Linked DNA regions of Homo sapiens: region 2 is linked to region 1. Evidence: promoter capture Hi-C in human tissues and cell types (Jung and others, 2019). All regions are on one chromosome and are shown on one strand. Each heading gives the region's core, a stretch centred on a gene start or on the middle of the fragment in contact. The rest is flanking DNA. Distances are from core to core; before and after follow the strand shown.

Region 1 (5,892 bases), core at 2,268-4,767:
TTCCTTTTGCTGATATTCTAAAGTCTGACAGAAATGCTAATTTTCAATATAGGATTCAAATGAAAGAAAACTTTTATGGCTTAGAGAGGTACATTTTAAAATATTCAATTAAACCATCATATACAGTATTAGCTTAATGACAGCTTTTATAAATTTTATTTTTTATAACAATTACCTGAAAGCCTTTCAGGTCACTTAAAGTATGAGTACCATCTTGGGATTTTCATCTAACTATAAATTCTGGAGGATCAGTTTATTCTGCATTATGGTGTCATAAGTGAAATAGATAGAAGTGGCTTCAAGCAACAAATGGGCTACTAACCAGTTGAATGACTTTAAATTCTGTTTGCCCAAGTTAAACAGTGGGAAAATTAGGGAAATACATACCTACCCCTTTCTACTCTGTAAGATCCATGAGCTAATTTATGTGAACAAAATTCCTTATGATCTTAGAGTTCCATTAGTTCAAATTATCATTATTAGGATGATCATTATTTGGCAAATTTTCTGTCTAGTTCCTCGTCTATTTCAACTCCTTCAGCATAGATGATTGTGCAAGAAATAATTTGTCTTTTGAATGGCTACAGTAATGTTTGCAGAATATATTGAAGTCAAAAAACTAACTTTCAAACCATTTAACATTCTCTTCTATATTCTTTGTGTTTATTTGGCATATGTACAGATGTATACATATATTAAGTGCCAATAAAATCAAAATCAAATATAAGGAAGATTCTAATATGAGTATCTTTTCTTTATACTATAGTTGGCCTCAAACACTCATACTCTTTCTTACCTGCTCTGGTGACCTTCTAGATTAGAGTTTCAAAGAAACAACCAGAGGTAGTAGCTGTAGCAAGACAGCAGCTGGGACCATACGGATCTCAGCATCCTGCCTTATGGCCATTATCTTTGTTTCTATCTTTATGCTGCCACTATGTCTCCTTGTGCTCTCTCTGCGTCCTCTCCTCCCGCCTCCTCCTCTTCCTGACTCCACTCCCATGGCTCCCTGTAACTCACCCATCCTCCTTCTTCACTTTTTTTCTCTATTGATATAAGATAAGCAAGATTTTTCCTAGTTAGGAAAAAAATTTTAAATATTTTTAAAAGTGTATATAGCTATGCAGCTACTATACCCTAATTCTCATAACAACCATTAACAAATGAAGAAAAATATAATTTTTGTATACATTATCCATTAGAGTATATTAGATTGTAGGTCCCTTAAGGGCTGAAAAAATAGAGATTTAAAATAAATGCAACAATTTTTTCATTTTTCTGTGTGGGAGTAGGTTGTTGCTGTAACAAAAAATAATTTGAGACTAACAACAAGAAAGAATAGTGAGTAATATTCTTCCCCCCTTCCCCAACTGCTGAAAGTGAAAATCATGTCAGCATCAAGTCATTTTTGCCACATCCCTTGTTAACAGCTTTTTCAGGGTGGGTCATAGTTCTATGTTTTGTTAGTGTCTTAACTCCATAGTGACATGCTTAAATCTTATTCCACATTGATTTTGTAGTGTGTGTGTGTGTATATATATATTTTTAGAACATCTCCTGATGATAGAATTAAATATTAAGTTATTATCAACTTGTCTAAAAATTTATAAGCTTTGAATGAAAAATAAATTTACTAATATAAGTTCATAATTGATTTTTTTCTCTTTGGAATATGTGTATGATGTATCACTGTGAATGTCTAAAAAAGTAAACTTACTGTTTGCCTGTCTCCAGAAAAAAAAGTGGGACCTAATCAAACTGCCGTGGGGTCAACCCTTGTGGTTTTAAAGGCCCTTAATGTTGTCCAGCTGCAAAATAAAAGGAATTGGGAGGGGAAGTTGGAAGGAGTGGAGGGGGTTGGGGGGGAGGAATGTGTGGAAAAGAACAGGGAGTCTGGCTTTTATTTTTTTTTTAAGTGAGTTCAGTGCCAGCCTGGACATTGGCTGTACAGACTATTGAGCCATTGTCTGCTCCATTTCCAGAATAGCCCCCAGTTAATCACTTCGGCTTTGAAGGGAATTTCCTCGTGGAATTCTCCACAGAAAATCTAATCAACTGACCTGCCCTCTCAACAATGGAAGGCTTTTTTTTCCTCTCTTTCCCTTATTGGGGCGGGCTCTGTAATGTAGCCTTTTGTGCAGAATGAACCCTCCCAGTAGGAGTGGAGAGCGTGCGTGAGTGAGTGTGTGTGTGTGTGTGTGTGTGTGTGCATGCGTGTGTGAAGAATGCACACTATCTCCTGTTGGTAAGTGTGTGCTTACTCCCTGACCAGATGCTGCGGTGCACGGGGCAGCCACCATCTCTGCATGCATGTCTGTGTAAGTGTCTCTCTCTCTGTGTGTATGTGCCTCTGTCATTTCGTGTCAAAGGTACATTACCTGATTACCTTTCTCGGCTGCCAGATTTTTATCTAGATAATTGGAACTGCTATGGAGGCTGTGCCTTGCCAGCCAGCTTAGAATCTGTAAAGCCATAGTTTGTCCACCTTGTTATCTGTGGCTGCCTGGGCAGAGGAAATTAAAGAGATCCACAGCCAGGGGGGCGCTTCCTACTCCTGACCTCCCCAGCGATCCCAAACAGGACAGTTTGTTAGTACCGTCTTTTTGTTTTTATGTTTTGATTTCGTTTTGGGTTTTTGTTCGCTCGTGTATGTTATTTTGGCATGTGGATACCTATTCCCCTCCACATCGCACATCGTGTTTTATGGAGTTTAGAGCTGAGGAAACTTTGGTCGGGTTGCCAGGACGTTCGCACCACTTTGCGGAAAGCACGAGCTAACAGTGAGACCGACAGAGTGAGTGACAAGTTGTTTACAGGTTTCCTTGAAGGGGCCTCTGCTATATTTCAATCTGTCAAAGTTGCTTTTCTTCCCTCAGAACAATGCCTGATTGTTGTGTGTGTGTGAGTGTGTGTGTGTGTGTGTGCGTGTATTTCCGTGTGTGAACGGAGAGAGCCTAGAAAAGGGTGAGAAGGAATAACAATTCTTTGTGTAAAAATGCTATTACTAACATTAAATTTTTTGCTTAATTAGTTAATAAATGCAGTTTAATCGAGCTTCTGTTATTATATAGACTAGGTTTTTAATCAGCAGCAAATACGTTTTACAAAATCATACTGTTCTGCGTGTGTATGTGTGTGTGTGAGTTTTATGATTTAGAAGACAGAGTATGGGAGACGTGTTAAATGAGTTGACTTCTCACATTCAGTGATGTCTAGAAGAGAGAATTAAAAGGAAAGGACAGGCACCCTGAGGTTGTCTAGAGCCTTGCAGCCGGAGCGTGTGGCTCCGCGGAGGGGGGAGCAGCCAGACTCCGCTGCTGGAAGTGCACTACCCCTTTAAGAGACTGGTCAAGGAGTCCTAGGAGAGAGAGGAGGGGAAGGAGGGGGGGAGAAAGAGAGAGAGAGAGAGAGAGAGAGAGACAGAGAGAGAGAGGGAGAGAGAGAGAGAGAGAGAGGGAGGGAGGGAGGGGGGGAAGAGACAGAGAGAAAATCAATTGGTTTAGAAGGTTTGGACTCACTTGACAGGTTCAGTTGGAGACGATCATAGGTGGCTGCTGTGACAAAGGGAAATTGTGCTTTTCCAGCATGCTTACTGACCCTGATTTACCTCAGGAGTTTGAAAGGTGAGTACAGTTTTTTCCCCCTAATATATTGAAGTACAACTCTCCCATTTTACAGTAGTCTCTGAATCATTGGAAGATGCTCCCCCAAAACGTGTTTGTTAGAGAAGCCTTTAGCTAGGGCTTCTGCAATCTTGTTAGCTGATTTTTTGTTGTGATTGCCCGGACCAAACTGAACTGATTTGCAAAGTCTCCGAGATTTCTGCTAATGTTTTTAGGTTGCGTCCTATAACAGCAAATTAAATGAACCTTAAGCATCTCTCTCTCTCTCCCCAACTCGCTGCTTCTGTCTTTCTCATTCACTCTCTTACTTTCTTCCTTCATTGATTGTTTTCTCCCCACCTTTTAAAAACGCTTTTGTGCAGAATGTTACCATTTTCAGCATCTCTGTCTCATGTAATTTCTAGGGTGACAGAAGGTTTTAGTGGTGCTTTAAACGGAGGCTATAAGTTCCTATTTGATCCTTCCGTAAAACTTTGGAAGCTGCTCAGTAAAGCACATGACCTTTTGTTGATATAAGAGAGCGTTTTTTCCCCCCAAAGAAAATTTAACATCATCGCTATATTAGATTACTCCCTAAGTGTCAAAAATAGGGGCGAAAAGGGGATAAATGGAGCTGTTCCCTTTCTAAGTTTTAGTGGCCACTTTTTGTGTTAGCTGTCTTGACTGAATTTTAATTTACTGTATTTTCCCCTTTTGCTATGATGGGAATAGTGTATTTGTAATTAAGTTGTTCCTATTTAGAGAAATATCTGCAGCATCCTTTTATTTGATGTTGTTGCAAGTAAAGCAGGGCTTTGAAAGAATTTTAGCCCTCTTAATGTTCCTATAAGTACACATTGCAATTTTTAAATTTGAGTTCTTATCCCAGCATAAGTTCATTTTTTTGAACTATAAATAGAATTTTGTTTGCCATTAAAAAGAATTCAAACTTTGTATTCTGTATGGTGAATTAAAAAAAAAAAAGCTAAAAAAAGCCAGGATGCATGATACCCAGGCTTTTTTTCATTTTCATGAAAGCTACCTTCTGTATAAACATTTGTTGTATCTGACTATGCAATGCAAGCTAGGTGCTAGACCAGCTGGTTAAAAATATGCTAAGTCAAGCTGTTCATCGCTCAAACGACTGAATTTGATATGAAAAGACGAAAAAAGAAAGGACAAAGATTAAAACATTCTAGAAGTGAAGCAATGGAAGAGAAAAAGAGTATTGAGGATAAAGTAACGCTTGAATGTGGTCACATATTAGAAAAGCCAGTATCAAATCAGGGAAGAAAGTAAAATAGCCAACACATATACTTCGGTGCTGTCATCTTTCTTTGATTTCTTCTGTGTTTTTTTTTTTAATAATTAAATTGCATCTTTACTAGATAATTCCAGCGAATGTTTGAGCTTTCTTAACAGTTTTGAATTAAAATTTTCACTTCTATATATTAACTCTTTAATTAGTGAGCTTTTATTTGCAAATATAGCCTTATATCATAGGTAGATGTTGAAGTTATTCATAGTGGAACATACTGTACATTACCTAATGTAGCGATTTGCTAATTTAACACAGTTAAGTTTTCTAGAATGCACAGAGTAGCACTTAAATGATAATATTCTTTAATTCTAATTATACTTTTTGCAAATACAACTCTGAGGCTGATTTGTAAGCCTGTTAACAGATTGTACTTATAAAAAGGTAGTTACATATTAACAGGCTGTAGCCTATTTCTCTATATAGGCAAGCTTCCTGCTGTGAACTTTATTTGTATTTTTTTTTCAATTATCTCTTTTTAAACTAAACTTTTCCCTTTCCTATTCTGATGCTCAAATCTGTTAACATCTTTTTTCCTCCTGGTGGGAATTTCATTTTTTTTTTTCACCCAGAGGCATGCTTTTCTAACTAGCTAATTAAATAAGCAAGTGATAATCAATAGGGTTGTTAGTATGACTATCATATTTAGAAATATTAGTAGCTAAAATAATTCTGAAAAATGTCACACAATATAACGTTCCTTAATAATTTCCCCTGTGGTTGTAATTGGTAATACATACAAAGATCTCAGCAAATCATTACTATTTGTTTACATTGAATTTGTACGGGTGAGTGTCTCTATAGGCACCCATGCATGATACAGTGTATCATGTAGACACAATATTGAATATTTATATTCTTCAAAGGAGGTATTTATGATGTAACTAAACTATCACATATAATTAGATTTTTTGCCTTTTCAACTATTTGCAACTTTCATTGAATAAATAGGTCATTTCTATTGACTGTTAA
Region 2 (5,834 bases), core at 3,235-5,734, 610 kb before region 1:
CAGCAAAGGGATTTCACCTCGTCCTTGAGAGCAACACGGGGAGCGCGAGCGAGCGGGCGAGCGAGAGACGGGGGGAGAGAGAGGGACACGCGCGCGCACACACACACACACCGGCACACACGCACACACACAGACACACACACACAGAGTGAAAAAGGCGAGCCACCAAAACCCATCTCCAGTCTCCTCCCGGGGGCCCCCAGCCCGCCTCTGTGCCACTTTGCATCCCACGCCGGAGGAGGCATTAACGAGACCGGGTAAGGTGCGTGAATCGCTGCGTTTTAACTTTGTTGTTCGTCCCGATGTTGTTGTGGGCAGACCTCCAAGGCGCAGAGCTCCCCTCTGCCGCTCGCCGGGCCCGCCACTCAGCACTCCTTCCCGGCTCCAGCTGGAGAGCCGCGGAGGAGGGAGGGGGCCGCCGCCGGAGTTTCCTCAAGTACAGAGGGAGGGGGACTGGGCTGGGGGTGGCGGAGAGGTGGGAGGCGGCCCGAGGCGCGGAGTGGCCCTGTCATCCCCGGGGGCGGCTGGCCGGGGGACCCTGGAGCGCCGGCTTGGACCCCGACCCGGAGACGGGATAACTTTCTATTTTTGTTGGGAAGCCTGCGTACTGTTGCTGGTATTGTTTTGTAAGTGGTGGCGGTGGAGGTGGTTGATGCGAGAGGAGAGTGCGGGGAGAACCCTGGGCTGTGCTGGGCATCGCGGCCAATGTCCAAGGCCAGACCCTAAAAGTTGGACAAAGCCCCTTAACCCTTCTAGGATATCAGAGCGACCCCTGGCCCACCCCCTAACCTTAGTCACCCCCACCTCCCGACTCTTTCGTCTTTTTGTTTCGCTTTCTGCAATCCTTCTCCCTACCACTCCCCCTCCCTCCCGCCCGGAATTTCTGAAACAAGTCTCATCCTTCAGGATTCTAGGGATTTCAGAGACCGGAAGCTTTAATTCTAATTGCAACTACTTTTTCCCCCCACCTCACTCAGTGTACCAAGTGAAGACCACTCACGTGTTGTGTCACTTTAAGCGCGGGTTTGGGAAATCTCGCTTGCACTTTGGGGCTACAGCAATAAGAAGCAATGAAAAGAGGTTATACGAGTTGAAATCAAATTGGATTTGGAAATGTTTGCGTTGGAGAGCAGCAGTTTGTTGAGTATTGATCGGATGCACACGAAGCACTGTTTACATATTTTATTAGTCATTTTCCCTACACTTTGCAAAGCGACTATATTAATAAATAGATTGACCCTGGTGAATATCTGAAGACGCTGGTTTCTGTGACTAAATTCAGAATGTGATGATGAATGTGAATTCATTTTAATGTGTTCCCTTCTCAGCTAAAGCAGGTCAAGACGAGGAATCCTGTGAATATGCAGAGCCCTACACTCGGTGCCAGGCAGTCCAGGCACTCTGGGTGGCAGTCAACTGTACTTTCTTACAAAAGTTTAGGGATTTGCTGGAACCCACTTGAGATCCTCACATACCCAGATAGCCAAAGGACTTTGTCAAGGAAGGCATAAGGAGGTGTCCCCAGGGACTGCCTTCTGGCTCAGCAGAGTTCTTTAGCCAAGGGCAGGACCAAGGGAAATCTGTGGGATTTGGGGCAGTAAGTGTGGGAATCTGCAAAGGGACTGGACAGTGATTTGTTTCCTTGCTTTTCATAAATAATGGCCCCTAGTACCCTGAAAACACACACACAGACACAAACAGGCCAATGAAGTAGGCACATGTGAGATTTGTAGGCAATGGACATTTCCATCAGAAAAACCAGAGGAAAATTTTTGATCAGGATTACGGGAGTGAGGCTCGATGGCCAAGAGTGATTAGGTTAAGGGCCAGATGGCTTTAAAGTATACGGAAATGTTTTTCAAGTTTGACTTTTATAGCATTTAAAAGGAGGACGATTTCTTAGAGCCTTTACAGAACTGCTAAATTTTGATCTGTCTAATTTTAAAGGAATTCAGCTGTATGAGAATTGCTGTTAGCTCAGATAGGGAAGGAATCTGGTTTCAAATGCAGATACATGGAACAAAGTTTCTAGGGGTGCTTCTTCCTGATTTAAATATAGCTCCCAGGCAGAAGCCTAGATAAATTCAGCCACAATGATTTAAAATCATAAGTACTTACAGTGGAAGTTCTTTTAGGCACTGTGCAAAGTTCTCCTGCAAATTATGCCATCAACTGTTTATTCCTCAGAACTATACAAGATAAAAATCATAAGCATCACTTAAAACTGATGCAATACAGCCTTAAATCCTTAAACTGCTAGGGATTGCTTTTGTTTGCCTAAAAGGTAGATCTTTCATCACATGAGTTGTTTAAAAACATTTAATTGTGGGGGTGGGAAGGGATGTGCATAATTATTTAGTTATTTGTGTTAATTACATAGTAGCATACTTGCTTGAAATTCTTTCTTTTTTCCCCCTTTTCTTTCCAGTGATCTCTCTTCTAACAACCTTGTTCCTGAAGAATCAACAGTTTTTTCTTGCTGTGGGTTTAAAAAAATTCATTTTGTAGCCTTTTTGAGTGGGTAGTATTGATCCAATCTGACACAGACTTGCAAGTGTAAACTCTTAATACAGGAAAAACTTCAATTCTTAATACGGAAAGCTTGTATTAGTTTTGTTGTTGAGCTTAAACAGTTCTGGTTGAATGGCATGTTGTATATAGAATTCAAAACTCCAAAACCTGTTTGGTAAATAACTAGGCATTTGAGGTCCAATGGCTAATTCAAATTAAGTTAGTTCTATACATGTAAGTGCACATCCTGTTTAGACTGACACGTGGTTTGGTAAAAGAAAAAAAATGAATATACACTTGGAAAGATGCTATCTGTGGAGTATATAAATAGTAAATAGCAAAAGAGTGAAGTTTATACTCAGGTATGTTGTCATCTTTTTGGTTGTCCTCAGTGGGGGTGAGTTATGAGTGATAAGGAGAATTTAAATTTCTAAATTTACCTTTTCCAGTTAAAGGAATGAATTTAAATGCTTAAAGAATTTTTTTTTTTTTACTTACAAAGCAAGTTTAAAATATGATCTAATGCTTACAGTATGTACTACCTTCTTGAAAAGCTCTGTTCTTTTTCTGAGTGATAAGTAATCATTGATTTGAGGGTATGTTCAGATTATATAAAAAAGTAAAACTTACAGGACAAAATTTATGTTTCCTAATCTCCTAAAATACACTGGATTTCAAATAACGGAGAGTTCTAATGTTGAATACTGTTTAGATTTCCAGCAGGTATAATTGTTGGATATAATTGATTGGCATAACCTGGATGATTCACCCAATATCCAATCAACTTCAGTGGTAGAGAATGCTATAATTGGAGTTTTGAGAGTAACCTGGAAACTTATTTGTCTAGGCCTGAAGTCAAATGCATTCCCTCATGCACTGGTCAAAAATTTTTAGTCTGAGAAATGAAGATTTATTTTAAAGGCGAAGAAAGTGCTTGGCTGTTTCAAATAAACTATATCCTGAACTTAGATTTGTAGATAGTTAATGAAATAAAAGTCCAATTTTGTTCCAAACATTGTTTTAAAACACCCATTTGTAAATTGTCTGCATTTGGTTTTCATATGTTAATGATTTGGGATCTGAAACTTATTTCAGAAAGGCATTTTGGTTTATCTTAAAAAACACCACACAAAACTGTCTAAACAACTCTGTAAATAAACTGTTCCAAATGCCTCAATTTGATGAATGAATTAAAGAATTATGGTTCTTAATCCAATTATGATCAGTCTGGTTATTCCATTTCCCATTTGGGGGAGCTTGGGGAGTTGGAATAGTAAATGATTCTCAAATGTGAGTGGGGTCTTTGTTGTTTACTTTGTGTGTGTGATGTAACGTAAATAATCACTCATACCTAATATTTATGAGAGGGATTTCTGATGTGGAGAAGTAATTTCAAGATCTTAAATTAACCAAGAGTTCGTTTGCATGAAAAGTTGCCATTAATAAAGGAGTAAAGTGAAGTTTTTAAAAATATGAAGCAAAGATCTAACCTTTTGCTTAAATATAATGAATTTTGATATTTAAGAGGGGAGAAATGGAGTGCTTAAGGCTCAGTAGAAGGGCAGACAATCAGGCACTTTTAGTTTGTTTTAGCCAGGCCATATGGGGACATTTCTGTAGGACTATTTAATAAATTTTACCAAATTCAATTTCCTTGTCTTTAAAATTGAGTCAGGGTCAAAGGTAGGCTAACTATGAGTTAGCGGAATTTCGCGGGGGGTTGTTTCCTCCAAAGCCCTGCTCCTTTATCTGCCTACACGGGACTTTTGAAGGCTTTACCAGCGAGGACCCTGACCTTCAGGATGGGCCCTTGACAGTCCATTTTGCTTTGATGGGCCCTTCTGAATTCCTGCCTCATTTGCCCCATTTAACCTCTGGCTCATAAGCTAATTATTTTAAAGTTGCTAATAGTTCATTATGGTTTAATTCTCAAACTAGATGATATTACTGTTATTTTGGCAGTTTATTATGATCGTCTAATTCCATAGAGATAAACTTGTTGCAATTACAGGTATCAAGGAAAGCTGCCAGGAGGAAATATTTACATGCATGAGGACTTTTTCAGGACTACTCAAATCATACCTTATAGGCAACTAATGATTTTACTTGCAATTAAGGATAACATTCAGTAGGGGCAGCATATTGACAAAATTAGGAAAAATTTGAATGCATGTAAATAACCATTAAATAACCATCCTTCAAAATTGAGCCATAAAAATGTATCTTGGGGAGTACTAGTGATGGTGGCATTGAATTCTACAAGTATAAGTCCATTCATTTTCTATTTCTTAAAGTTCATTATAAGTAAAAACAAAACACCCCAAAACAAAGACCTGATTGTATCTCTGATGCTCAGCTACATGTCATTCAACTACTGTATGTTTTTATGATATCCTATGTACATAGCTTAAAAATAATACAGTAGTCATAGGGATGAGCGGACTTTAGTTTGATACGCAGTTTGTATTCTCTGGTAGCTTAAGACATTTTTTCTTACTTCAACACCAATTAAACTGTTGGAAGTGAGGGAATTCAGGAAGGAATCAGGAGAGGAGAAAGGCTATCTCATTTGTAGGTCTGTGATTCATCCAAAACGTTATTTAGAGATCTGAACTTACAGGGTTCTACCTCCTTTTTTTTCTTAACCTCTTTTTTTCTTTCTTTCTTTCTTTTTTTTTTTTTTGAAATGAAGTCTTGCTCTGCCACCAGGCTGGAGTGCAGTGGCGCTATGTTGGTCCACAGGCGGAGGGATGTTGAACCCTCCGCCTCCTGGGTTCAAGGGATTCTTGTGCCTCAGCCTCTGGAGTAGCTGGGATTGCAGGCATGCGCGGCCACACCCAGCTAATTTTTGTATTTTTAGTAGAGGTGGGGTTTCACTATGTTGGTCAGAGTGGTCTCGATCTCCTGACCTCGTGATCCTCCACCTCAGCCTCCCAAAGTGCTGGGATTACAAGCGTGAGCCACCGTGCCTGGCCTTCTTAACCTCTTAAACTGCAAATTATGATGCCCTTTCTTATAGGGGTATTGTTTGGATTATGTTAGATACTACGTGTGAAATGCCTAGCATAGTGTCTGTCATGAACTAGGTGCTCAATAAATGTTAGCTACACTCAGCTCTCTCTCCCAGTCGAGTCTAGGTTCTGATCATTAATAACGTTTGAAGTTTCATTTTGTACTTACTTTGAACTTATTTGAGTCTAAAAAGAAAAAATGTATCACTTTCTTGAGGCTGAGATCAACACTTTAAAATAGTGATTCAGTGGTCTGTATATGATCTCTGACAATGTGGTTTTATTAAGGTGCTGTATTTGGTGCAAGTGTGA

What was found. The method cuts DNA at HindIII sites, captures the fragments that hold promoters and counts their contacts. A contact is called where the count stands out against the background at its distance.
Region 2: a fragment that was not itself captured here is called in contact with the fragment with the promoter of SOX5 in region 1 in 1 of the 25 tissues and cell types used here (dorsolateral prefrontal cortex).

What each region holds. Positions count from the first base shown.
Region 1 is chr12:23,947,295-23,953,186 of GRCh38, reverse strand. SOX5 (SRY-box transcription factor 5) reads left to right here and starts at 3,517. Exons shown (of 15, transcript NM_006940.6): 1 at 3,517-3,623. The coding sequence starts at 3,586. The HindIII fragment of the contact is 5,378 bases long and covers 702-5,892 here.
Region 2 is chr12:24,556,761-24,562,594 of GRCh38, reverse strand. It overlaps a transcript of SOX5 not described here. Among named protein-coding and RNA genes, the nearest start is that of LINC00477, 24 kb to the left of the region's middle. The HindIII fragment of the contact is 5,433 bases long and covers 1,768-5,834 here.